Linked DNA regions of Homo sapiens: regions 1, 3, 4, 5, 6 and 7 are each linked to region 2. Evidence: promoter capture Hi-C in 16 types of primary human blood cells and fetal thymus (Javierre and others, 2016). All regions are on one chromosome and are shown on one strand. The core of a region is centred on a gene start or on the middle of the fragment in contact, and the rest is flanking DNA. Distances in the headings are between cores, read along the strand shown. Region 1 has its middle 14 kb from the start of ALG10. Region 2 holds the start of YARS2 (tyrosyl-tRNA synthetase 2). Region 3 has its middle 2.3 kb from the start of LINC02963. Region 4 has its middle 96 kb from the start of LINC02963. Region 5 overlaps SINHCAF (SIN3-HDAC complex associated factor). Region 6 has its middle 13 kb from the start of ALG10. Region 7 has its middle 32 kb from the start of ALG10.

Region 1 (3,905 bases), core at 1,308-3,807, 1.3 Mb after region 2:
GTATAGAGAGGTGAAGTATTTTTTCCAAGATTACAAAATAGCTGTCTGAGCTGGGATTCATAACCAGGCAGCCTGACTCCAAAATCAATATTCTTAACTCTATTGATATGATGGAGAAAGGCATGAAGTCTATCTTCAAATTCATGGCATTTTAGAAGGAAAAATTGTCACAGATAATGTGATTATACTTCCTAGTTTTATAGGTCAGAAAAATGAAGTCCACACTAATTTTGCCTCTTCCACAAGGAGATAGATTCTCATCTACCATTGTGTCTTTTGTTTCTGTTTTTGTCATCATACCTCAAATTGATATATGTTGTAAATATGAATTTAAGGAAGTAAAAAAAATAACTCAGGGCTGGAGCCTTCAGCCATATTAATATACATTGACATAAAGACCTTTGTTTTAATATGAATGATTCCAGTTACCAAATGGAGAAATAGTTGTTTGAAAATTAATATTTAGCTTCTCAAAAGAGACTCCTATTTGGAAGCAAATTGTTGGTTAAACAGGACATACTTTAGATTTTTGAAAAATTCTCTGTGGAATAACAATCTCTTATTTTTAAGAATGTATGAATATGTGTTCTATATGCTTTTAAGTTATGTATTACATACTGTTCTCTAAAATGGAAATGTTTATTTGGCTTCTAAAAGTCATTTGTGAGTTCATGTTATTTAAAACTGCTTTTCAGTCAACTTATTCTTTATAAAAAAAGTTTGTTCAAATAGCATGTTTTTATTTCATTTCTAAATAAATTCATGTTTGATAATATTTTATAATGTATTATATCTAACACATTTTCTTATCCTAAGCCAAGTATTAGAAGCTTTGTATTTCCCTCACACTGTCCAGTTAGCCATTTTCCCCTGTCTACCACCTACCTAATCCTAAGCTTTATTAGTCATTTTAAAATAGAACCAAATCTTTTTAAACACCTGTGATGTGTGCTCATAACTAGCCTGGGTGTCTGTATAATCTTCCTTTTATTCTCATAATAATAGAAAGCAGTTAAATTACTGGCTGATCACCTTGAACTTGTGGGGGCTTGGGTTTCTTTTTTAGGCTAGGTCTGTAGGAAGCTCAGAGTATTTACCAAACACATCTAAACTTGGCAGGGTTCAAGCCCCAGTCTTTGGGTCTTGTGGTGAAAAAAAGAAAGTGGTCCCTACTCTGTGTTTGCAGACTTCCAGCTCTTACTTTCCATTGGGTGTCTTCGAGTTTCTCCCATCATATGCAGCTCAGAGGTCAGCCCAGGACTTATACACAGATTTTGGGATTCCCTTCTTCTGTGACTCCCTCTTTTCTGAGATTTCTCCTAATTCACAGCTACTCTAGCAGTCCTGAATTCCGCCCTTTCACACCTCAAACCAATCATATTGTACCTTTCTAACTAGGGTGTGCCCTCTGAGGGAAAAGTCATATAAACATGGATCGCACCCAGTGAGATCTTTCAACTGAGTCCATCCAGTTCCTGCCTTCTTTTGTCTACTCTTCAATGTTTCCAAAAAGATTTTTTTCCCCTTTTAAATGAGTCAATCTAGAGGAAAGCTAATATAATAAAAGCTCCTCTGCCATGACCTGCCTAGGAACCTTGTCTTGATTGTAGTTAACATGTGTTATGTGTAGTCTGTTTATTAGATAAGGAAGTTGTGGGTATTACTTTTGGTTTTGAGAAACTAAAACGGAGAGTTCCTGAAAATAGTTTAGGTGGCAAGAGTAAGTTTTTGGAATATGGACTTCTGTATTAGCCCATTCTCATGCTGCCAATAAAGACATACCCGAGACTGGGTAATTTATAAAGGAAAGAGGTTTAATGGACTCATAGTTCCACATGGCTGGGGAGGCCTCACAATCATGGTGGAAGGTGAAGGAGGAGCAAAGTCACATTTTACATGGTGGCAGGTAAAGAGAATGCTTACGCAGGACAACTCCCATTTATAAAACAATTGGCTCTTGTGAGACTTACTACCAGGAGAACGGTATGGGAAAGACCCACCCCCATGATTCAGTTACCTCCCACTGGGTCCCTTCCACGACACCTGGGAATTATGGGAGCTAAAATTCAAGATGAGATTTGGTTGGGGACACAGCCAAACCATATCAACTTCTAATATGGTACTCTAACAAAGTCTGTCATAGTATTTGTTATTAAATGCAATGACAACTTGAGGGAACCTTGTGTGAAAAACATGGTATCAAGAAACACAAAAGTGACCTACTCCAGACAAGATGAACTCACCTAATGGGGGCTAACTAATGCAAAGTACAACATGATTGATTATCACTGAGGAAGAATATAAGAGCTAGGGTGTTTACTTGAGAATAGAAATCACATCTGGCAGAAGGGACAAAGACATACTTCATGGAGAAATTCACATTGGAGATTATTTGTATGGAAACCTGTGGAGACATTGCAGAAAGCATTTCATACAGAATAATGTGATGCAAACAAATTACACAGTAAACTAAACTACCATATGGCTGAGAAGCAGGTGGTGACAGTGGCCAACACTTATGAAGTGCTATGTGACAGGCACCAGTCTAAATTTTGAACATGAATTTATTTAAGCCTCATAGAGATGCCCTAAGGCAAATGCTATTATGATCCCCATTTTTACTGACAAGGAAAATAAGACATAGGGAATTGAAACAGTTTACAAACAGGAAATGTGGCTCCAGAACATGCCCTCTTAACCAGGGCGCTATACTGATTCCTGCTAAACTTGCATCATCTGATGGCCTGTGCATCCAAAGAACTGAGGTTATTTTTAGGAAGAAAGAACAGTGCTCTGCTGTATACAGTGAGGAGCAAGGAAAGCACGTCCCACACACAGACCCACAGATAAATGGGTGTGGAGAGAAAAATAGTTATTTAGAGATGATAGCCAGGTTTCAGTTAAAACTAGAAGAATGGCTCTGTGAGACAGGCCCTCCACTCTCCTGTAGATCCTGTTGTAAGTGATGCAGAAGCCAGAGAGAAGGTTGCTCTCCATCGGAAACATGAGGAGTTTCGGAGACCTCCCTAAAATATTTGGCCTGAAAGGGTTTGAAGCCAGGAGGAGAGATGCAGTCTTAGGAGAAACGTTTCATGAGCTGTAGCAGGTACCCTATCAGTCTTTCTCAGTAAGTACTGTTCTATGTAATTTTTATATTTTCCTTGCAACGCTATCACTCTCTAAAGGTCTAGTGAAGAAATCAAATTTAGATGAAGAAACCTAGCTTGACCTAGAATCTTCACTGTGTGTGTGTGTGTGTGTGTGTGTGTGTGTGTCCGTGTGTGTGTAATGTATACATTGGGTCTTTGGGCCAAATACACTGTAAGGTTTCAGAGGTATAAACAGGCCCTGGGCTTTGGAGAACCATGGGAGGGGATGATCTTGATCTAAGTCAGTAGTTTTTACTTAGCCACATCTAGAAATCTATGTCTTGGTCATAAATTTTGTTCTTTGAAATGCAGGGAAATGTATCATAAAATGCAGGAAATGCAAGGAAAAGTAACACATTAAAGCTAATTGGTTATTAATATTTTAAGAGCATATGAGAATGTCATATTCTATTCCCTCCAGCTCTCCAACCATATCCCCGACACATACCCACACACTGCCTGCCCGCACGTAAGCACAAGTATTTCTGGGGATCATGAGCATGAGAACTTTAGGGGTATTGCTAGGAAAAGAAGGAAGAGAGTAAGTAGGAAGACTGAAGACAGAGAAAGGAACCACCAGAAAGAGTAGAAAAAAAGAGAGGAATCCTTTCTTCACATACCAGTGACTCTAAGAATACCTTTCTCCATTAAAATAATATCTCATCCAGGAGGCACGTTCAAATGAAATACACGTGGAATACTGATATGAAAAGACAGAAGAATATAATAGGATCTGAGTTGAAAGACCGTGCTTAT
Region 2 (3,620 bases), core at 99-2,598:
CACTAGTTTCATGGAGGGTGCAGAGCTAAAGCAGAGGCTAGCTACTCAAGGAGGCCCAGTCACGTTCTGGTATAAACACACAAAAGCAGTTTCTCTAATTAGAGAGGACGACTTAGGCGAAGCAAAACAGACCGACCAAATCTTCACTAGTGGTCTGTTTCCCTTTTTTTTTTTTTTTTTTTTGAGACGGAGTCTCCCTCTGTTGCCCCAGGCTGGAGTGCAGTGGCGCGATCTCGGCTCACTGAAACCTTCGCCTCCCGGGTTCAAGAGATTCTCCTGCCTCAGCCTCCCGAATAGCTGGGATTACAGGCGTGCATCACCACGCCCAGCTAATTTTTAGAATACACCGTTTACTCTTAATACCCTTAATTCAGCCCTTTAATTCTTATTAGCCAGTGTTATTAACGCCATTATAGAGCCTTAATGGGGATAAAACCAACAAGAGCTGGAACGAAGGGCAGCAACTACAATCCTAAGAGTGAATCACAGGCTACTAGTGTGTAAATTATTTGGTCCCAGGATTTCCCCAAGGTTTAAAGGCACTTACTTGTTGATGAACTCATATCCGGACATGATGTTGCCTAGTTGATCAGATCCGCCCAGCTGGACCCTGCATCCATAACGCTGGAAGAGGTAATAGAAGTCATAGGCCTGGAGCACCTGGTAAAAGAACTCGGCCAAGCTCATGCCCTCGGGGCTCTTGAGCCGCAGCTGCACGCTCTGCCGGCTCAGCAGCGTCCCCATGCGGAAGTGACCCCCCACTGCCGCCAGGAAGTCCACCAGGTGCTGCTTCTGGTACCAGGCCGAGTTGTCCAGCACAGTGAAGCTGCCCCAGGAGCGCCCATCAGTGAAAAGCTGCTGGTGATTAGCCGCCAGGGCCTCAAGCCCTAGGCGCAGAGCTCGCGCGTTGGCTCGCACGCGCTCTGTCTCCAGCGCCTCGCGTTCCTTGGTACGGCCGCTCGGGTCTCCCAGGCGCGCCGTGGCGCCTCCCACCAGCGCGATCACGTTGTGGCCCGCTCGCTGCAAATGAAACAGGCCCAGCAGCGCAAGTAGATGACCCACATGAAGCGAGTCTGCCGTGGGGTCGAAGCCACAGTAAATGGTTTGGGGAAAACTCGCCGTGCCACGGTCGAAGAGCTCTGGGAGCTCTATTTTCGTCCCCGTCTCCGGGAAGAAGTCCTTGAACAGACCTCGAGCCTTCTGCGCTGCCAGTAACCCCTGAGCGCCCGAGTGGGCCTTACGCAGCCCCAAGGGCAACAATACTGAGAGATTTAGGGTACCAGACCACCGGCCCCAGGAAAAGGACCGCAAGATGGGCGCCGCCATCTTGGTAGCGGCACGAAGGGAATGCTGGGATTGCAGAGGCTCCCACCACACCCACCTACTTACAGCTCCTAGGGAAGGTGCTTCAGTGTTTTTCTGCGCATGCCCGAGACGGTTACGTAGTTACGGAGCTTGCGCTCTCAGCAGTTGAGTCCCGACTCCAAGTGGCGATTCCGCCTCAGAGCCGTCGCCTTACGTTCCCTTAAACTTAATTTTTCCATCAGCAGTGTGGATCTGCTTATGATAGTTCCTACCTCATAAGGCTGTTGTGAGCCTTAAAAATTAAAGCATTTGGCACATAACGCTTCACAAATGCTAACTTGTATTTACATTTTCACGTAAAAAGATTGTGATGCGCAAGTTCTTTGAAGTCTTGGTTCCATGCAAAAAGCTGTTCACAGAGGTTGAGAAAGGTTAGGAATTGGTTTAAGTTCGCGGAGAGATAGGGAGTTGCTGCTGAGACGCAAGCAATTTCATAGTACCGATTCCCTAATTGCACCTCGTCCCCAGTATTCATCGGCTCTTCCAGGAGGTGGCAGTCTTGTCCAAGGTATAGCAAGAAAAACTCAGTGCAATAAAGTACATGCATCAAGTCCTGTGGTTTATTTATTTTAAATACAGTTAACTAGGTTGGGACACAGCTTAGCATGAGTGGATTCAAGTTAGTAATCACATCGTGCAGCGTGACAGGTGCTCTGAATACTGACCAGGGATGAGGTTCTTATTGGCAGCTGGCTGGCAGGTGATCTAGCTTCAAAATCCCATGTTAGAGCCTGATTTCTAGGACCGCTTTCAAAATCGTCTTAGGTAGAATTCCCTGGACTCTGAGTTGGGGGGGAGACTGGTTTGCAGGAGGGTAATTGGAGTGTGCTCTTAAGAACAACACCTATAATGGAGTGAGGGAGGCCGGGTTGGGCGGAGGGAGAAAGAAGTTGAACTGTGAACAATTTGTAATAGAGGCCTCAGGCAATCCAGTAAGGGCTCTGGAGCCGGGATTTCCTTTCAGAGTCATCCTGAATTGAGGCCAGGGGGCAGACCTTTAGACCCTCTTACTGACTGCTCATTAAATGTGGGATGTTTCTGGGGAGGAAGCAAAACGCTGGGTTAAGGCTTTTGGAGAGTGAGATGTGCAGGAAGGGACTCAGCTGTGAGCAATAAGCAACCAACACTCCCAGCAGCTGGGGGATTGAGTGCCTTGGTCCTGTGACTGGGATCTGGGCCATGTTCCAAATCATTCCCTACAGGACTTTTCCATTTTTTAACGTTATAAAGTTATCTAACAAAATGAAAACTTATTTTAATAATTAGTTTCTTTGCATGTATAATTATCAGTGAATTAGTTTCTCATTGCCAAATAGTAACTTCAATAGGATTTTGAGATACTCATTCAATAGGCTATTAAACATACTCCCAACTGCTTAAGAAAATAGTGTGTTCAAAATATCTTAAAATTTGCAATCATAACCTGTTGATCTTCAGTGTTTTTTTTTTTTTTAAGTGTCACTCTGTTGTCCACACTGGAGTGCCGTGGCAGGATCATGGTTCACTGCAGCCTTGAACTCCTAGGCTCCAGCGATCTTCCTGCCTCAGCCTCCCAAGTAGCTGGAGCTACAGGTGTGGACTACCATGCCTGGCTAATTTTTATTTTTTGTTTTTGTAGAGACGGGGGTCTCACTGTATTGCCCAGGGTGGTCCTAAACTCCTGGCCTCAAGCAAGCTTCCCACCTCTGCCTCCCAAAGTGTTGGGATTACAGGCATGAGCTACTTCGCAAGGCCAATCTGCAGTCATATGGTCCACCACTTTGATCAGGGACAGATTTCAGTAGGTATGGCAGGAAATTCTCCTGAGCACACGTAAGGAAACTCACATCTGGGCCACTTGTCACTTGAAAGCCAAAAACCCAAGAGAAGAGCTGTAGTGAAAGTAAAGTTAGCTTTATTCAAGAGACCAGCAACCCTGGGGGATGCAGTGAGCTAGCGTTCAAAGACCACCTCTGGTTTTTAAGGGCAATTAAGAGAAAGGATGATAAAAAGATTTTTGTGAAACGTGTGCAGTCTCAGGTCGGCAGTAAATCATTGCTTTCTTGGTCAATATTTTGTGGCTTTCTGCAGGTACCATCAGCCTATTCTTATTAGGTCGGTCAGCCCATTCACAGAGAGGCTGATCTAGGTATTTTCTTTTATCTCTGTTCAAGATCCTGTTTTTCTGAGGCTGATTTTAGTGAATGATCTACAAAATCAAGCAAAGTAATAATTGTATTCAAGTAAGCAAGCTTTCTTCTAACATGGAATCAGTA
Region 3 (3,565 bases), core at 844-3,343, 1.5 Mb after region 2:
AAATGTCTGAACCTGCGGTTCCTCTCGTACTGAGCAGGATTACCATGGTAGCAACACATGGGCAACAACACAAGGGGAACGCAAACAGTAAAACTAACCTGTCTGACATGGATCTAACCATAATGCTTTTAGGGCATGCGCACCGCTGTTGGGTGAATCCATTCTAGTCCGCCTTGCCCTTCGCAAAGAAAAGAGAACTCTCCAGACGCGGTGGATCACGCCTGTAATCCCAGCACTTTGGGAGGCTGAGGAGGGAGGATCACCTGAGATCAGGAGTTCAAGATCAGCTTGGCCAACATGGTGAAATCCTGTCTCTACAAAAATACAAAAATTAGCCAGGCATGATGGCGGGTGCCTGTAATCCCAGCTACCCAGGAGGCTGAGGTGGGAGAATCGCTTGAATCCGAGAGGCGGAGGTTGCAGCCAGCCGAGATCGCGCCATTGCACTCCAGCCTGGACAACAAGAGTGAAAGTACCTCTCAAAAAAAAAAAAAAAAGATACAAATAATTATATGGGCTCTGTTGCCCAGGCTGGAGTGCAGTGGCTTGATATCAGCTCTCTGCGGCAGCCTCCATCTCCCGGGTTCAAGTGATTCTCCTGCTTCTGCCCCTCGAGTACCTGGGACTAAAGGCAAGCGTGCCACCAAGCCCAGCTAATTTTTGTATTTTTAGTAGAACTGGGGTTTCACCATGTTGGCCAGGCTGGTCTTGATCTCCTGACCTCAAGGGATCCACCCGCCTTAGCCTCCCAAAGTGCTGGGATTACAGGTGTGAGCCGCCACACCTGCGCTATGTGTTTTTTAAATCTCTCTTTCTAGGGTCATGAGAATTCTCATTAATTTCACTTAGAGCTCCTGGAGAGAAAAGCCTCTATTATTGTCATTGTAACAGTAAAAAAAAGAGAGATTTTTTTCTTTTGAGACAGAGTTTTGCTCTTGTTGCCTAGGCTGGAGTGCAATGGCCCAATCTCAGCTCACTGCAACCTCCACCTCCCAGGTTCAAGTGATTCTCCTGCCTGGGCCTCCCAAGTAGCTGGGATTACAGGCATGTGCCACCATGCCTGGCTAATTTTGTATTTTTACTAGAGACAGGGTTTCACCATGTTGGTCAGGCTGTTCTCGAACTCCTGACCTCAGGTGATCCACCTGCCTTGGCTTCCTAAAGTGCTGGGATCACAGACGTGAGCCAGTGTGTCCAGCCTTTTTTTCTTTTTTTTTTTTTTGAAACAGGGTCTCCTTCTATTGCCCAGGCTGGAACACAGTGGCACAATCATAGCTCACTGCAGCATCAAACTCCTGGAGCTCAAGCAACCCTCCAGGCTCAGCCTCCCAAGTAGCTAGGATTACAGGTGCACACCACTACGCCCAGGAAATTTTTTCTATTTTTACACAAAATGCCTCAACATGGATTTTTTTTCTTTTTTGGCAGAGATGATGTCTCACTATGTTGCCCAGGCTGGTCTCAAACTCCCCACCTCAAACCATCCTTCCACCTTAGCCTCCCAAAGTGCTAGGATTACAGGCGTGAGCCACTGCACCCAGCCCCAATAACTTTTTTTTTTTTTGGCAGTCTCGCTCTGTCAACCAGGCTGCTGGAGTGCAGTGGCGTGATCTCAGCTCACTGCAACCTCTGCCTCCCAGAGTCAAACAATCCTCCCGCCTCAGCCTCCTGAGTAACTAGAATTACAGGCTGATGGCAGCACGCCCTGCTAATTTTTGCATTTTTAGTAGAGACGGGGTTTCACCATGTTGGCCAGGCTGGTCTTGAACTCCTGACCTCAAGTGATCCACCTGCTGTGCATGGCCTCCCAAAGTGCTGGGATTATGGGCGTGAGCCACCCCACGTGGCTCCCAAGAACTCTTTAAATGAACCTAGTGTCACAAGAACAGATAGCTAAACTGTATCTGAAAAGGTGGCTCATACGGGGAAATTTTTGGTGGATTTGGGGAAGCTTAGGGCAAATTTTAAACATGAGGCCTTTTGTCAGATCACCTACATTCCTTGGATTCTACGTGGGTTTGTTGCAGATGCTTAATATGACAAATTACATGACTTCTATCACTTCATTTGATCAGCCTCCCATTGACTTTCAGCCAAGTCCTGCAGAATCGCTTCTCAGATTGTATGTTTCCTCAAGACTAAGATGTTTTCATAGTCTCTCTCTAACTTCCCCTTTTTGTGGCTATTTATTTATATTTATATGTTTTTCAACTCCTTATTTTTTTTTCTCTTTATAAAAGCTTTAACCTGTGCTATTCTTGAGGGAAATACTGATGCATATCTAAACTTTAAGGGTGTTTTTCATCCTGGCTACAGACACTCGGTGAATAATTTTTCAGGTTATGGGAAAACCCATCATTATGAGAATGTAGCAACTTTTATTTTGCAGTAACTGTTAAAATTGTAGCCATGGTGCTCAGTAAAAGGGGACCTTCCCCCTGTAGGTGTTTGGAGAGGAGTTTTTTGTTAGTAACCTGCTTATGGATGGGGCATTATCACCTAGAAAGGAAAGAGGTACCGTGGTATGCAGTTAAAGGGAGCTGGGGCAAGAGCAAGGCAAAGAAATTCCCTCATGTCTTCAATGCAGAGCCAGCATTTAGACTTCTACTCCAGGCAGGGCCCACAAATCTCTGGCAGCCATGAGCACCTGTTTTGCTTCTGCCTTCTTCCTGTTGGCAATTTTGGGTTTGGGGGGTTTTTTTTAGACAGAGTCTCACTCCATCACCGGGCTGGAGTGCAGTGGTGCAATCTCGGCTCACTGCAGCCTCTGCCTCACAGGTTCAAGTCATCCTCTTGTCTCAGCCTCCCAATTAGCTGGGACTACAGGTGCGCACCACCAAGCACAGCTAATTTTTGTATTTTCAGTAGAGATGGGGTTTCGCCATCTGCCCAGGCTGATCTCGAACTCCTGATCTCAAGTGATCCATCCACCTCAGCCTTTCAATGTGCTGGGATTACAGGTGTCATTCACCGTGCCTGGCCTGTTGACAATTTGAGGGGCATGTAAAATATCTGCAGCCCTTTCAGCCAGTAAAACACCGAAGAATGTGTTACGTGGCTTCTCCATTCTCCTTCTTTCTCTGCCCTACTAAATATTAAAGGGTTCTCCTTTTCCCAAGCCCAGTGGAAAAGCTTCAGGAAGCACGGAGGTATCAGAAGCATCCAAAGAGATCACACCAAGTAATTCCAAGTCACTCTCATTCACCCCATTGGAAGTTCCTGCCATCCTGTGTACCCTGGGGGCTCCTAATGCAGGCAGATAATATCCTTGGTGTGCTGTTAGGCTGGAAGACTCCCTCATCTTTGCTCTTCTGTTTGAGAAAAGAAATGGCTGGACACGGTGGCTCACCCCTGTAATCCCAACATTTTGGGAGGCAAAGGCAGGTGGATCACTTGAGGTCAAGAGTTCAAGACCAGCCTGGCCAACATGGTGAAATCCCATCTCTACTAAAAACACAAAGGTTAGCCGGGTGTGGTGGTGGATGACTGTAATCACAGCTACTCAAGGAGCTGAGGCAGAAGAATCGCTCGAACCCAGGAGGCGGAAGTTGCCGTGAGCCGAGAT
Region 4 (3,562 bases), core at 439-2,938, 1.4 Mb after region 2:
CCTGGAGGAGGACCATGGGCAAGACATGATCCCATCGTGAGTTTCCTGGCAAAACTTTTTTAGTAGCTGTTTGAGTGTCCAGTTCATCCATTTTACCTTCCCTGAGCTCTGTGGTCAGTAGTCTGTATGCAGTTTCCATCTGATCTTTAAAAGTTGAGTCAGCTGTTGTACTACATCTGCCACAAATGCAGGACCATTGTCTGATCCTAGGGTTAAAAGAAACCCAAATCTTGGTATGATGTCTTTTAGTAGTACCTTTGTCACCTCTCTTGTCTTTTTAGTCCTGGTGGAGAAGGCCTCAATCCACCCCAAGCAGGTGTAAACAAACATTAGCATATATTGGTAACCTCCTGCTAGAGGTAACTCAGTAAAGTTTACAAGCAGGTTTTCACAAGGCACAGCCCCTACTTCCTGAATTCCTGGAGGTCGAGTAGGTCCTTGTTTTGGATTATTCTGGGCACAGGATAGACCTTGTTTACAAACAGTACAGGTGATGGCAGAGAGCTGTGGCACATAGAAATGCCAACCTATCAAAGTTTCTAGGGCTGTCCTTCCAATGTGTGTTCCTTGATGGATCTGTGTCACAAACCTTGGGGCTATTGTCCCTGGGATGGCTAGCCTCCTGTTAGAGAACAGCCACCATCCACCTTTAATATATTTTTTTGTTTTCTGACCAAACCAAGTTTTTTTTACTGAAGAGTAATTGGGTACCTCCAGCAAAGGGGGCTCTATAAGGAGAGGAATTGATAAAGTTTTTTTTTTCAGGTAAAGCCTTGCTCATTGCTGCCCGCCCAGCCTCTCGGTCTACCTTTCTGTTGCCCTGCATCTCAGCTTTTCTCAATTTGGTGTCCTTTGCAATGAATGACAGCCACTTTCTCTGGAGCCCATATGGTTTTTAATAATTGCAATTTTTTTTTTTTTGCCTTTAGTAGTCAAAACTCCTGTCTCTTTGTATATTGTCCAACGGGCATGCAGGATTGTAAAAGTATATCTTGATCAGTATATATGTTTACTTTTTTTCTTGGCCAATAACGGTGCTCTGGTTAATGCTATTAATCTAACCTTCTGAGCAGAAGTCCCAGAAGGTAAGGCCTGAGCCTCAACCACCGAGTGCTGGGTCACTACTGCGCATACCCTGCATATCATACCCCATCTGTTATGAAACTGCTGCCATCAGTGAAGTATTTAACATCTGAGCTCTCCAAGGGGGTATCTCTGAGATCTTCCCAGCTCTAGAACACTTTGTCCACCGTATTTATGCAACAGTGGGGAAGATCCTGCCAGCAGTGAGGCAATCCACCGTCCTTTCAATCAGGTTTCTCCACAGGCAGCAGGGTAGCTGGGTTTAAGGTATTTACAGTCTCTAGTGTTATCTGGGGATTGTCATACAGAAGCCCTTGATACTTTAGCATTTTAGAATTGGACAGTCAACGATGTCCTCTTTGCTCCATTAAGGTGATTACAGCGTGTGGCACCCTAACTATTAACTTTTGACCTAGGGCTAGCTTGTTGGCATCTTCTATAAGGATTGCAGTAGCTGCCAACGCCCTGAAGCAGTGGGTCCAACCTAAGGCCACCAAATCCAGTCTTTGGGTAAGTATGCTACCAGCTGATGCCAAGAACCCAACAATTGAGTTAAGACTCCGACTGTCATTCCCTTTTGTTTATCCACGTACAAAAAGAAGGACTTTTTTTTTACATCTGGCAACACTAGCGTCGGAGCTTGGATGAGAGCTTCCTTTGTATCTTTGAAGGCCTTTTCTTGTTTCTTTTTCCACAGGAGCAGCCCTCTTTTTTTTTCTTCGGTAGTCTCATATAAGGGCCTTGCTATAAGGGAGAAGTTGGGAATCCAGGTTCGGCAGAATCCCGCTGCACCTAGAAATTCCCTGACCTGCCACCTTGTAACTGGGGTGGGCAATGCACATACAGCCTCCTTGCATGCACTTTTAAGTCTGCACTGGCCTTGGAATACCATGAATTCTAGATATTCAATCTCCCGAAAGCAGACTTTTGCCTTGTCCTTGGACACTATGTAACCAGCTTCACGCAGCAAGTGAAGAAGCCTCTCTGTTCCTTAGAGGCATTTCTCCCTCATGGGGGCAGCGAAGAGCAAATCATCAATGTGTTGTAATAGCACACAATTGTCACTAGGTGGCGCAAAAGCCTCAAGGTCGGTAGCCCAAGCCTCCTCGAAAATAGTAGAATTCTTTTTTTATTTTATTTTATTTTTTTAATTATTATTACTATTATTATTATTATTATTATTTTAATTATACTTTAAGTTTTAGGGTACATGTGCACATTGTGCAGGTTAGTTACATATGTATACATGTGCCATGCTGGTGCGCTGCACCCACTAACTCGTCATCTAGCATTAGGTATATCTCCCAATGCTATCCCTCCCCCCTCCCCCCTCCCCACCCCAGTCCCCAGAGTGTGATATTCCCCTTCCTGTGTCCATGTGATCTCATTGTTCAATTCCCACCTAGGAGAATTCTTAAACCCTTGTGGCAGCCTTGTCCAGGTATACTGCGATTGTCTCCACTGGAAGGCAAATATAGGCTGATTTTGGGAAGCAGTCTCAAGGAAAAGAAAGCGTCCTTTAAGTCCAGACACGTGAACCACGCGGCCTCAGCAGGAATCTACCCCAACATTGTGTATAGGTTGGGTACTATGGCATGGATAGTGACAGTGGCTTTGTTTACACCCTGGAGGTCCTGCACTGGCCTGTATTCACCATTTGGCTTGCGAACAGGCAGCAGAGGAGTATTCCAGGAAGACTTGCATTTTACTATAATCACTTGTTTATAGGGCTGATTTAAATGTTTTGTTATGTCATCAATTGCCTCTCTGGGGAGGGGGTATTGACGGACTGGTACCGGGGCAGCATGAGGGTTAAGCTCTACTACCACTGGGGGTCTGTTTGCAGCAAGCCCAGGGGGGGTTGTCCTCAGTCCATACACCTGGTACCTTGAAAAGCATTCCCTACATATTGTGTAGGTCTGGCTCTGGCAGCCTCCTGGTACACAGTTTATAGAGCCGCCATTCCTCAGTTTTTGGGACAGTTAGAGTCAATACCATTGCCTTTGGCTTCCCTATCTCCAGGGTCATATTCCCTTTAGGTGTAAAGGAAATCTGTGCCTGCAGTTTCTGGAGTAAGTCTCTTTCCAACAAGGGCACTGGACAGTTTGGCATGTATAGGAACTCATGCTGTACTTCTTGTCCCCCAATAACACATCTCTTGGATTTGTAAAAAGGTCTCCGTTTTTTGGCCCCAGTAGCCCCTATGATAGTGGCACAATTTTTTGTGGGGGGGGGGGGGCTAATTGGGTGAGTTACCACAGAGAAATCAGCACCAGTATTGACCAAAAATTTCATTAATTGGCCTCCTACTTCCATAGAGACCATAGGCTCCCCGGGGCCTAAAGGATGGAGCCCGGTCTGTCTTAGTCCTCTAAATGCTTGGCCCCCGCTAAGCTGATCAGATCAGGATCTGCCTTTGAAGCACCATGACTAGCAACCGAATGCTGTCCTCGAGTGTTAGACCATTGACTATCATCTT
Region 5 (3,760 bases), core at 627-3,126, 1.5 Mb before region 2:
GAGAACTGGAGGACTTAGCTCTGCAAATACAGCAGCCCTCTATACTTCGGTACATCTTTGGCTTGTGAAAACCAAACATCTTTTCTTCTGGGCAATAGTCTGTAAAGCCAAGGGAATTGACATATCTTTGTTGAGGGCTGTAACAAGGAACCATTAAAGAGTTCTCTCTGCTCCACCCCACCCCCAAGCAACTTGGTGTTATATGACCAAGACAGGCAGGCAGCTCAAGGGAAGACCTCCTGGATCGACCTCCATTCTTGGCACTATCAAGGCAAGCGTATAAAACACAAAGAAAAGCCTAGTTATTTAAGGAGGACTCTACTACCTCCTAACTCGCCTAACAAACATGCAATCTAAAAATGGGGAAGAGAAGCATTTTTTAAAATCAGGTTTTGAAGTAAGAAATGCCACAAACAATCCTGTAAAATAATGAAGCTGTACACAATTAAGGATGCATCCTTAAATTTAAGACACACCTTTTTATTTTGCACATTTGCATTAACGTGATTCCCCTCTGGGGAAGTTTTGAGCATTTACCATGAATACTATTTGATACTAAGCACACAACTAGCTCACTATGCATCAGCCCATACTACTTTGCCTAATGGGAATTCAGAGGGGATTTCTTCTGTGATAAATGGGAAGTTCTAAGCAGTCAAGTTTGCCCCTGAATTGAAACTGCTGAAGGGAAGATGTAAAATTCACAAAAATCCAAGGTTAGAATTTAATAATAATAATTCCTTATTATCATTAAGACAAAAAAAGAACGAGCTCATGTTGTCTGACCGCTGATCTGCCCCTTAGTTGTTAGAGGTTTGTGGACCTCTTCTACAAGGCTTTGTGCCTGAGAGTAGTAACAGTGGGAGGCAAATGTCCCAGAGACGTAGAGTGAAATAAATTGCAGTCCTCCTGTTAAAAAAAAAAAAAATCTCAACGTCAAGGAAGGAATGAAAACAGCTCTGGGGCTGGATGCAAATATGTAGCTGGCAGTAAATCTGTACCTTAGGAAAAGTAATTTGGAATATCCAAATCAAGGGCCAGCTCACCAAAACAACCGGACTAAGAGAGGTGATGAAAAGGCAATGAATATAGAAACTAAACTCCAATGGACAAGTCAGAGGATGTGTGTATGTATGAGGGTCTAACTATAAATTATCACAAAATTATCACATAAAGCAACAATAAAAGAAAAAAATTTTTTTTTTTTTGGAGACAGAGTCTCACTCTTTCACCCAGGCTGGAGTGCGGTGGCGCGATCTAGGCTCACTGCAAGCTCTGCCTCCCAGGTTCAAGTGATTCTCCTGCCTCAGCCTCCCTAGTAGCTGGGACTACAGGTGCCCGCCACCACACCCGGCTAACTTTTTGTATTTTTAGTAGAGACAGGGTTTCAGCATGTTAGCCAGGATGGTCTCGATCTCCTGACCTTGTGATCCACCCGTCTCGGCCTCCCAAAGTGCTGGGATTACAGGCGTGAGCCACCGTGCCCGGCCAAGAAAATTATTAATATCACTTTCGTGTCCATAGTTTTAGGAGTTATTACCACAGAACACTATCTTTTTAAAGTTGTTTTAGAAATAAACTTAGATGAGTAAACCTAAAGCTTCAGTACAGTCATGTGTTGCTTAACAATGGGGACACATTCTGAGAAATGCATCATTGGGCATCCTTGTGCAGACATCAGTGTCCTCACATAAACCAAGATGGCAATAGCCTACAACACCCCTAGGCTATATGGGATAGCCTACTGTTCCAAGGCAACAAACTTATACAGCGTGTGACGGTACTGAATGCCGTGGGCAACTGTAATACAATGGTAAGAATCTGTGCATCTAAATATAGAAAAGGTACAAAAAAATATGGTATCATAATCTTTTGGGACCACCATCATATATGCAGTCTGTGGTTGACCGAAACGTCCTTGTGTGACATATGGCTGTATTTGTCTTTGGATTATCTCGTCTGATCCCATTCCATTCCAATTCTGGTTAGTATAATATAGCAAGTATTAATGAAAATGATTCAGAACCAAATATCCAGGCTTTTTATGTGTATTTTTTTGGTATTGAGGGGTTTTGAAATATAGACAGAGGTTTTACAACTTTTAAAAGAAAATTTTTTTAAAACTTTTATTAGCAAATAATTAGCTAAAAACTGAAGCTTCCCTTTCAAACAGGCTATTGTTAATAAACTGTTCCTCTGCCATGTTTTTGTTGGTGAGAGAGGCAGGCAAAAGAGTGGGATGGGGGCAAGGCAGAAGGCCTTCATGCATTTCAATAATTAAGTCTAAACAGTTACCTCTAAGAACTGTTTTAAAAAAAACATTTTTAGTTGATAATAATTTTAGTTAAATGCTTGGGAATTTGATGTCTTTGAGAGGAAGAAAAATGAGGAAGTACCCTCTACACAGTCATAAGAAAAGATCTAGAGAGGCCTGCTCAAATGAGGCAGATTTTTTTTTCTCAATCCAACAACAAACCCATATGATAACTGAAAAGAAAATCCTGAAGAAAATGGTCGCATGTTGCTTTGGAAAAAACAATGTCAAATGACAGAAGATTGCAGAAACAAGAAAGCAGAGTAGCAGTTATTGCTTTAATTTGTGTATTCCTGTTTTAAGGCAAAATGTTAATACGGCCCTCGTCCTCACACCACCCTGCGCTCTTCTCCAAACTCGCCCAACAGCTTGCATTACCATCAAGAAGGTCAGAGAACAGTTCCTCTAATACTCTCCAACTTCATCCATAACTCTTGGAAACTTCAGCCTCCCTTCTCAGCAAGGACAAAAGAAGCAGAGCAAAAAAGGCCAGTTCATTCCATTAATACACAGACCAAATCCTATTACGACAGACAGATTCCTATCTCTACCCTCACCATCTCTTTCCCTTCCCCCAAATAAACAAGTCCTCAAAGCTATCAGCATTCAGCTCATCTCTAGGATGTGAACTACCTTCACTGAGGTTGGATTTGACCAAGACGCCATAGTTTGTGCCAGTTACCACACTGCTAAGCTGTTAAGGATGTTAGGGTTATAGGTGAATATTGAGGCTTTCTTTTTAATCAGCAGCCATTGTGAATTAAGTGTTCCTCTTCAATGATTTTTTTCTGCTGGTGGGGACCTCCACAAAACTTACCCAGCACCCCTAGCAAGACATTCCAGTCATAAGCTGAGGAATATTCTTCTTAGACATAGGGGAGAATAGGCTGATGTCTTAGGATTCATAATCCATTTTCATATAGTTCCGTGACCTTACTTTTGTCCTGACAAAATTATTCTGCCTGAACATCTGAGAGGGATCTAAATCCTAGGGCTTACCCTCTCCTAGGCAATGCTCAGTGAGAAATGCAATGAGGTGGCAGACACCTGTCCTTATGCAACACACAAGGAGCATGTGAACCTTTTAATGGATGACAACTTAATAAACCTATTAAGCCTTTTCTGAGCTTATCCTCACACTTAAGAGGCACCTGGGAATCTGCAGCAAATACACAGGGGTTTCATTTCGGGCTTTGTTTACAACAACCAAGTTAAGCAGTGGTTGGTGTTTAACCATTTCAAGGTTTGGGAAGCCCTGAGATTAACTGAAATTATTTCCAAAAATCTACAAACCCATGAAATGTTTAAAAAAACAACAAAAAAAAAACACTACTTAATCCCTAGAGCAAAACCAAGGACATAAAATGGTCTCTGAAACCAAGTTACTTTATATATTTAACAAAGTACTGGGTGGGCGTGGCATAACTTGATTTTAAACTGGAGATT
Region 6 (3,453 bases), core at 180-2,679, 1.3 Mb after region 2:
CTCATTTACCAAATCATTCACCAATGAATCAAAAAAGCAACCCAAAACCAAAAGAAAATGCCAAGTATTGGGTTCAAGTTCTAGATTCAACTACTTTACCATCTGCATGACTTTAAGCATGTTGATCTTTCTAGACTCAGAATTTTTCAGCTGTAAAATGGTAATCTATAGTTGCTTTACAAATCTTTGTAGGTTTTATGTAAAGATAAAAAACTCATACTCTTCGGCTTTGTAAATTTGGGTCTTTCATAAATACAATTAATAGTATTGTTTCTCTTATTGGTATATATGAATATATTCAACTTAAGTAAAACTAGTTTATGATTCTATATTTTTTACAATGTGTAACAGATTTATTTTCTATTCTTACAAATTATACCCTAGAGAGAAAATAAAACCAGGAATCTGTGAAAAGGCAGCCAATAATTTTCTCTCCTTATCCTAGAAAACCAGAAAATAGCAGCATAATGAGACAAGCATAGTAATTACACTATTTGCAGAACTAATTCTATGTGATATGATGAAGATGCCCTCCTGGCCCTCAATAAAACATAAATAAGCAATTTTGTCTTACAAAGCGTTATTTTTAAAATATAGTAATTAACCCCTTACCTTTATCTTCTTTCACTTTCCACTCTGGGATTTTGTATTATTTTGCAAAGTAGAGATGATTCATTTCTGAAAAATGGCAACCATTTTCAGTGTTGGCATAGGAGGGTGACAATATTGTTGGTGGATAATTCTGAGCGCGTGTCTCTATACAACATCCTAGATTCTCCAGCCTCTTTTCAGGACCAAATGTGTCTATTTCATTTTTTTCGTCTGTTTTCTAATAAAAACCTAAGTTGTTTTTGAGCCAGATTATGGGATCAATAAACTAAACACTTTAAAGTGTATGTATCCAATCTGTAACTAATTGCCCATAAAACATCACTGGAAATTAAATGAGGGAGAAGAATGTATTTATCAGAAATCCTCTTGAGAGTGTCCTACATGTTACTGAATTGAAAGCTCCTTTATTGCGATGTATGCTGGAAGAAAGGGGTTTTTAATGAAGCACAACATCCCTCCCTACACTCTCCCCCAAGTCCCTCCTCACAAAGGGGTATGAAATGGACCCTAAACTACCTTGTAAGGATGTCTTCAAGGTGTCAGCAGTATTGTATTCCTTCTGGAGGCTTTAGAGCAGAATCCATTTCCTTAACCTTCCTAGTTCCTTAGAGGCCTCCTGCCTTCCTTGGCCTGTGGTCCCTTTCTCAAATCACTCTGACCTCTGCTTCCATCATCATGTCTCCTTCTCTCATTCTGAGCTTCCTTCCTCCATTTTCTAAGACCCTTTGTAATTATGTTGGACCTACTGAACAGGCTCATGATGCTTAACCTAACCATATCTGCAAAGTATCTTCTGCCACTTAAGGTAACACATTCACCATTTGTAGGGATTAGGAGGTAGACACCCTTGGGGAGCCATTATTCTTCTTAGCATACTGCATATACTATTCTGGAATAAAAAGGATGTGAATTTAAACCCTGAATCACTGTTTGTTCTATAGGACTTTAAGCAGATTGCTGAAGTAGTAACCTCTTTCCAAAGCTATAAATTGGTGATCTTGGTTATAACTGCCTCACAGAGTGGTTGTGAGAGTCAAATAGGCCACAAAGCTAGTTGAATAATGCCAACACAGTGACTACATCTTATTTGCTAGACTAATATTTCTCAAATTTCAGTGACTAATGACCCTTTTCAAGAAAAAAAGTTCTCTTCAGCATTGATAAAATATTTAAATTATTTTTTATTTAAATAAGTACAGCATAAAACTGAGTTAGCTTTTGTTTATAATTCTTAAACAAATATATGAAGCAAATTTACAAGGCAAATTAATAGACTTAAGCAATGCTTGTAACCTAAATTGCATACTTGCTACTATGCCATTGGACTTTTCCAGTTAGACATTCTTATTTACTATATGTGTGTGTGTGTGTGTGTGTGTGTGTGTGTGTGTGTGTGTTTTGAGATGAGATGAGGTCTTACTCTGTCACCCAGGCTGGACTGCAGTGGTGTGATCTCGGCTCACTGCAACCTCCACCTCCTGGGCTCAAGCCTTCCTCACATCAGCCTCCCAAGTAGCTAGGTGCACCACCATGTCCGGGTAATTTTTTGTATTTTTGGTAAATATGGGGTTTTGCCATGTTGTCCAGGCTGGTCTCAAAATCCTGAGCTCAAGCGAGCTGCCCACCTCGGCCTCCCAGAGTGCTGGATTTACAGATGTGAGCCACTGTACCAGGCCAGTGTCCATATTTGCTATAGTTTTATGATACCCAAAAGCTCTCACCATCTTTCACTATTCAAATTATGCATTGGGAAACATTTATCAGTAGGATGGTCAGCCATGTTATCATTGGGCCTCCAAACATCGCAAGCCTGGGTATAAACATAAAATCAAACACAAGTGCCTAGTTCGCATTGCAGTATCAACTCTAAGAACATCTAGCACTGCATTTTCTAGTACAATAACCACTAATCATTAAAGAGAAGTTAATATAAAAAATTAATATTTAAGTTAATATTTAATTAAATTACCAGCCTGGCCAATATGGTGAAACCCCTCTCTACTAAAAATACAAAAATTAGCCAGGCATGGTGGCACAGGCCTGTAGACCCAGCTACTCGAGAAGCAGAGAAAAAGAATTGCTTGAACCCAGAAGGCAGAAGTTGCAGTGAGCCGAGATGGAGCCATTGCACTCCAGCCTGGGCAACAGAGAGAGACTCTGTCTCAAAAAAATTAATTAATTAATTAGTTAATTAAAGTCTCTGTTCAACTACCCTAGTTGCATGTGGCTGTGATGATCATATTAGACAGCATAAAATACATTTTAATTATCGTGGAAAGTTGTGTTTTAAAATTTTTATAGAGAATTATGTACCTTTAGACAACATCTAAAAATACTGCTGCTTAGGAAACACTGTAGTAGATGGTTGTCCATGAGAAAAGGAGTTATTCCTATTGTATTAACTGCTTTTTTCCCTAGTGCTTAGTGCTTAATAAACACTTGTTGAAAGATTGAAATTCCAGTTTAAAAGGCAAACTGTGTATATAAATTATGTTTTCAAACTAAGAAGTTCTGTGATGGAATAAATGTACTAGGGACAGAGATAAAATGTGTAGATCTTTTGTTTATCAAAAGACACATGAACCTATTTAAAATAAATGCTTTTCACATAGCTAATTATTCTACCATGTTTATCATAAATAAACAAATCAAATTTTAATTATTGTTGTTCTATGAATAATGACCATCAATTATTAGGTTAAAATATTTTGATTTATTATTCATGCTAAATGAACACTGTCAAAATAACAGATTTTATGGAAACTAAGACAACATCAAAGGTACAATATACATGTTGTTATTGGTACTAATTAATGTCTTTACATATCTACTAACTTCACT
Region 7 (3,861 bases), core at 770-3,269, 1.2 Mb after region 2:
TATAGGTATAATTGTGCGTTTTACTCCCAACTGAGCCATGAATCAATAAAAGTTTATAAAAATCTTTGTTTTTAGGCTTAAAATATGATCTTAAAGACTACACTGTAGACCACTCAGCTTTTATTCACTATCCCGCTGACATTTTTAGTAATGAATCCTCAACCATTTTTGGCTTTCCCTTTCTATTCCTTAGTCACAGTCCATGTCTCCCTTAAAGTGTTATTTCTTTTTCTAATTCCCCATTCCTCTCACCCACTGTCACAGTCACAGATCTTTTTCCAGAAAACGTATGAGCTGAGAAACATTCTGTATTTATCACACAGATGCCAAAAGAATAGATAACCCTTGATAAGAAAACACATTAAAGTGTCATGTTCTAGGAAGTTCTTGGATTATAAATCTTAATATATATGTAAGAAAAATAATTTGCCATTAATTATAGTTATTCATTAAAGCTTTCTTAGTCAAACAAGCATCATTAAATTTATAAATGATACTGAGTTAGTTTGGTCAGTTATCCAGTTAGAAATTTGCTCCCCAAAGATGGCTCTTCAGGTTGCAAATACTAATTGGCTTTCAGTGGGTAACAGTGAGTATGCTTAGTTACACATTTAAGGAAAGAAGCCAGGCAGCTGGACTCCCCACTACTTAACAATGGTATTGTGTCTAATCCAAAAGTACTACTTGACAGGAAAATCCTTATTGTCACGATTGCTCATGGTTGATGGTGTTTTTCTAACAAAGTTAGCTATTCACCTGAGGGCATCTTATTTCACACAATGAGCAATGACTCACAGGAACTGGGAAGAAAAAGAAAACTGACGAATTTCCTGAATACCTCTGCTACTGCTATATAATTAGCATTTGGCTATATGTATTATTTTATTTTTAGATGACGTTTTAGGGAACACTATTAAATCATAACTGGTAGCCAAAAGGACGTGGCCCGTAATCATGCTAAGAATAGAAGAGAAGTGTAATGCAAATTCAAAGAGTTGAATAATGTGATTTGAAACCTGGCCCTGACATGTATTAATATTTCATTTTGAAAACTGCATAATCTGAGTTTTAATTTCCTGATTAGTAGATAGTAAGTACGCTTACTTTACTGAGTTCTTAAAATGATAAATGAAATAATAAATAAGGAATATATGGCACTTTGCAGAGTTTGTTTTACATTATATAAATAAGAATTTTCTATCATTATCATGAATATTGACTAACTTGACTAAAGTTCACCAAGCCATTTCATCCTATGAGAAAGGAAACAGACATAGAGGATTAAATAATTTGTCCAGATTACAACTAGCTAGTAACAGCCAAAACTAAAACCCACGTTTCTAAATTTCAGAGCTGTATTCTTTCCATAGCTATGACTCCTTCCTCTGACGTTTCTGACATTGCTCCATGGATTTAATCAGACAATTTAAATATAGAGTTAGAATTGTCAATTAACTCACTGACAACCTCATGTAGCTGGTGAAGTGGGGGGTCATTCTGAAGAAGAAAATGTTTATGTATTGAAATAAGGAGACATGGATAATCTGTTTTGATGATTGGAAGAACAGACTTGTTCCAGAAAATCAAGATGCTTTTAAATCAAGATGTTTTTACTGGATCCTATTCTTTTTTTGTTGTTGCCGTTTGTAAGGGAGGGTCAGGAAATCAGAAATGGTTGCTGTTGGCAACTATGAGGATTGGGTGTGTAGCTGCTACTGACATTATAGGAAACAGAATAAGGAGTTTTGTTAGGAAGAATAAATCCAGCTAGCTAGCACTGTAGCTAGCAATAATTATGTACATGTAGTGATAGTACACACATAACTGAAATGGATGTTTAATGATGTGCTAGCAAGTCAACTAAACCTTTTAATGGATTTTGTTGTGGGTGAGTTGATATAAATGGGGAAATCTTGAAGTAAAAGAAAGTAGAAGCAGCTGATAGAAAGGGATATTATTTTCCTGTAGAAGGACATCTTTTTAGTCTTTTTCTCTTACCTTCTCTCCCCGCTCCCCACCGCCCACACACACATAAAAAAGTATTTCTAAAGGAAAGAAATAATATTTAGATTAGTATAAAATAGCCCAAATATCACAGGTGAAGAGGAAAAATAACTAAGTAAATGACACAGAAAGTAACCATCAGAAAGCCATCGCAAGCAGCACAAAGAAAAACAATGAGTTTAGTTGCACAGAAAGAAAGAAATCCGAGTAGAGAGAAAGAAAGCAAGCCAAAGAGGCACGATAATATAGTGAAGAATAGAAAGTAAGGACACCGGAGGAAAAACAACAGGTGACAATTAATGCTAGAGAGAGGAGACTAAGTTGAAAGCAGCAGAACACCCAGATGGAAGCCAATCCGTGAGCTGATTTTAGAGCATCTTTCTCCTTTGGTCACAGTAACTCTCCTCCTTTATGCACCTTCTCTGCAAATACCTGAAATACAAGGTAGCTATGACCTGCCAGGTCCTCTTGTTAACAGGTTATCAAAATAGATATCTCATTTATGAGATAAGCAGATTTCATATAGGTGCTGAAGTTCCTAATATCATCAAAATCCCATTATTTTTGGACATAGTTAAAAAACAGAGAGGAAGCCCACCTGTTTCTGTAACGGTCAGTGAAGCTATTCAGATCACTCATGCCACGTCACAGAAATATATAGCTAGACAAACATTTTTAATTAAAAATAATTTTAAATCTTTCATAAAAGCATTATGGAAAGGCAGTGAGGAAGAGCCAAGCCAAAAGTGAAGAGAAAACAAGGATCCAGACTGAGAGGAAAACATTGAAGCCACTTTTGCCCTGAGAGCATTTGCTGATAACATAAAATTGGACTCCTAGTTTTCTCCATTTTGTGAGGTGAGAGCAACGTAACTTAGAATTCAGAACCAGCATAAGATATATTTTAGCAGATTTAGATTTGAGCATCTCTATTCCAAGCTGGGATTCCCTAAAGGTTGTGCCGTCAAGGTTAAGGAGAACAGAAAGTGAGGCAGTTATTACATGGGGAATTTGATCCCAGGTTTAACTTTCTTGGATCAGGGAATTTCAAAACCTAAACTTGGTTTAAGTAGTTACTGACTAGTAATGTGCTCTGGTGCTTGACAGAACCAAATGATATCTCCTTTGGAGGAAGCTGTCTACATAATACATCACAAATCAATCTTGCAATTTTTCACATGCAATATTGAACATATATTCAACGATAATAGGGAACACAAGAAACTGGAGAACAAAAATGAAAGAATTAGAACCAAAGAGATGTGAAAAACTAGAATCATCAAATGCAGATGATAAAGCAACAATGCACATAAAGAAATGAATGTATTTGTTTGGCAGTTTTTAAACTTTTAATTAATACATAACTGTTATGAGAGCTCTTTTAACAAATTTAAGATGCAAGGAAAAAATAAAAAGGAATTAATTATTCCTAAAATATATAAAGTAGCATGTATTAATATGTATGCATTACAATGATTTAAAATATTGTAAATATTATTTACAATATTTTATTGTAACAAAAATAAAATATTTTTGGACAAATATTAACACAATATCTTTAGACAAATTAATTAGGAAAAAAGCTTTAAATCAACAGGTTTTACTTGCGGTATGGGAGGGTTTTTGGTGAGATATCTATACAGTTGAGAATATATAGCAGTGAGAATGAAACAATGATCTAAATTTCTATTAATAAAGATGGATAATTTGTCAAACATTTATTGCTTAAAGCCAAAATGCTAGCGATCTTTTTCTAAAGGTACCTTATTGAATTTTCTAAGGCTCACCTTTAAAAAGGGCTTAAGTGGGAACTATGGATAGATATAGGGATAATTTTGGAATAAATATAATACAACC

Evidence for each region. The method cuts DNA at HindIII sites, captures the fragments that hold promoters and counts their contacts. A CHiCAGO score of 5 or more calls a contact.
Region 1: a fragment that was not itself captured here is called in contact with the fragment with the promoter of YARS2 in region 2 in 1 of 17 cell types (total CD8 T cells); the score reaches 5.7 in total CD8 T cells.
Region 3: a fragment that was not itself captured here is called in contact with the fragment with the promoter of YARS2 in region 2 in 2 of 17 cell types (total CD8 T cells and naive B cells); the score reaches 5.7 in total CD8 T cells.
Region 4: a contact is called between a fragment that was not itself captured here and the fragment with the promoter of YARS2 in region 2, in 1 of 17 cell types (total CD4 T cells). The highest score is 5.6, in total CD4 T cells.
Region 5: a fragment that was not itself captured here is called in contact with the fragment with the promoter of YARS2 in region 2 in 1 of 17 cell types (naive CD4 T cells); the score reaches 5.8 in naive CD4 T cells.
Region 6: a fragment that was not itself captured here is called in contact with the fragment with the promoter of YARS2 in region 2 in 6 of 17 cell types (total CD4 T cells, non-activated CD4 T cells, naive CD8 T cells and 3 more); the score reaches 15.2 in total CD4 T cells.
Region 7: a contact is called between a fragment that was not itself captured here and the fragment with the promoter of YARS2 in region 2, in 1 of 17 cell types (endothelial precursors). The highest score is 7.2, in endothelial precursors.

What each region holds. Positions count from the first base shown.
Region 1 is chr12:34,034,522-34,038,426 of GRCh38, forward strand. No RefSeq gene overlaps it. Among named protein-coding and RNA genes, the nearest start is that of ALG10, 14 kb to the left of the region's middle. The HindIII fragment of the contact is 3,326 bases long and covers 895-3,905 here.
Region 2 is chr12:32,754,549-32,758,168 of GRCh38, forward strand. It overlaps YARS2 (tyrosyl-tRNA synthetase 2), which reads right to left and starts at 1,349. Exons shown (of 5, transcript NM_001040436.3): 1 at 548-1,349. The coding sequence starts at 1,326. RefSeq lists enhancers at 289-928, 485-644, 929-1,568, 1,015-1,114, 1,135-1,364 and 1 more. The HindIII fragment of the contact is 6,832 bases long and covers 1-3,038 here.
Region 3 is chr12:34,219,690-34,223,254 of GRCh38, forward strand. No RefSeq gene overlaps it. Among named protein-coding and RNA genes, the nearest start is that of LINC02963, 2.3 kb to the left of the region's middle. The HindIII fragment of the contact is 289 bases long and covers 1,950-2,238 here.
Region 4 is chr12:34,121,152-34,124,713 of GRCh38, forward strand. No RefSeq gene overlaps it. Among named protein-coding and RNA genes, the nearest start is that of LINC02963, 96 kb to the right of the region's middle. RefSeq lists a silencer at 2,047-2,096. The HindIII fragment of the contact is 4,433 bases long and covers 1-3,562 here.
Region 5 is chr12:31,298,126-31,301,885 of GRCh38, forward strand. SINHCAF (SIN3-HDAC complex associated factor) reads right to left here. Exons shown (of 6, transcript NM_001135812.2): 2 at 1-99. The coding sequence starts at 79. Among named protein-coding and RNA genes, the nearest start is that of FLJ13224, 24 kb to the right of the region's middle. The HindIII fragment of the contact is 557 bases long and covers 1,599-2,155 here.
Region 6 is chr12:34,007,400-34,010,852 of GRCh38, forward strand. No RefSeq gene overlaps it. Among named protein-coding and RNA genes, the nearest start is that of ALG10, 13 kb to the right of the region's middle. The HindIII fragment of the contact is 4,477 bases long and covers 1-3,453 here.
Region 7 is chr12:33,988,378-33,992,238 of GRCh38, forward strand. No RefSeq gene overlaps it. Among named protein-coding and RNA genes, the nearest start is that of ALG10, 32 kb to the right of the region's middle. The HindIII fragment of the contact is 3,132 bases long and covers 454-3,585 here.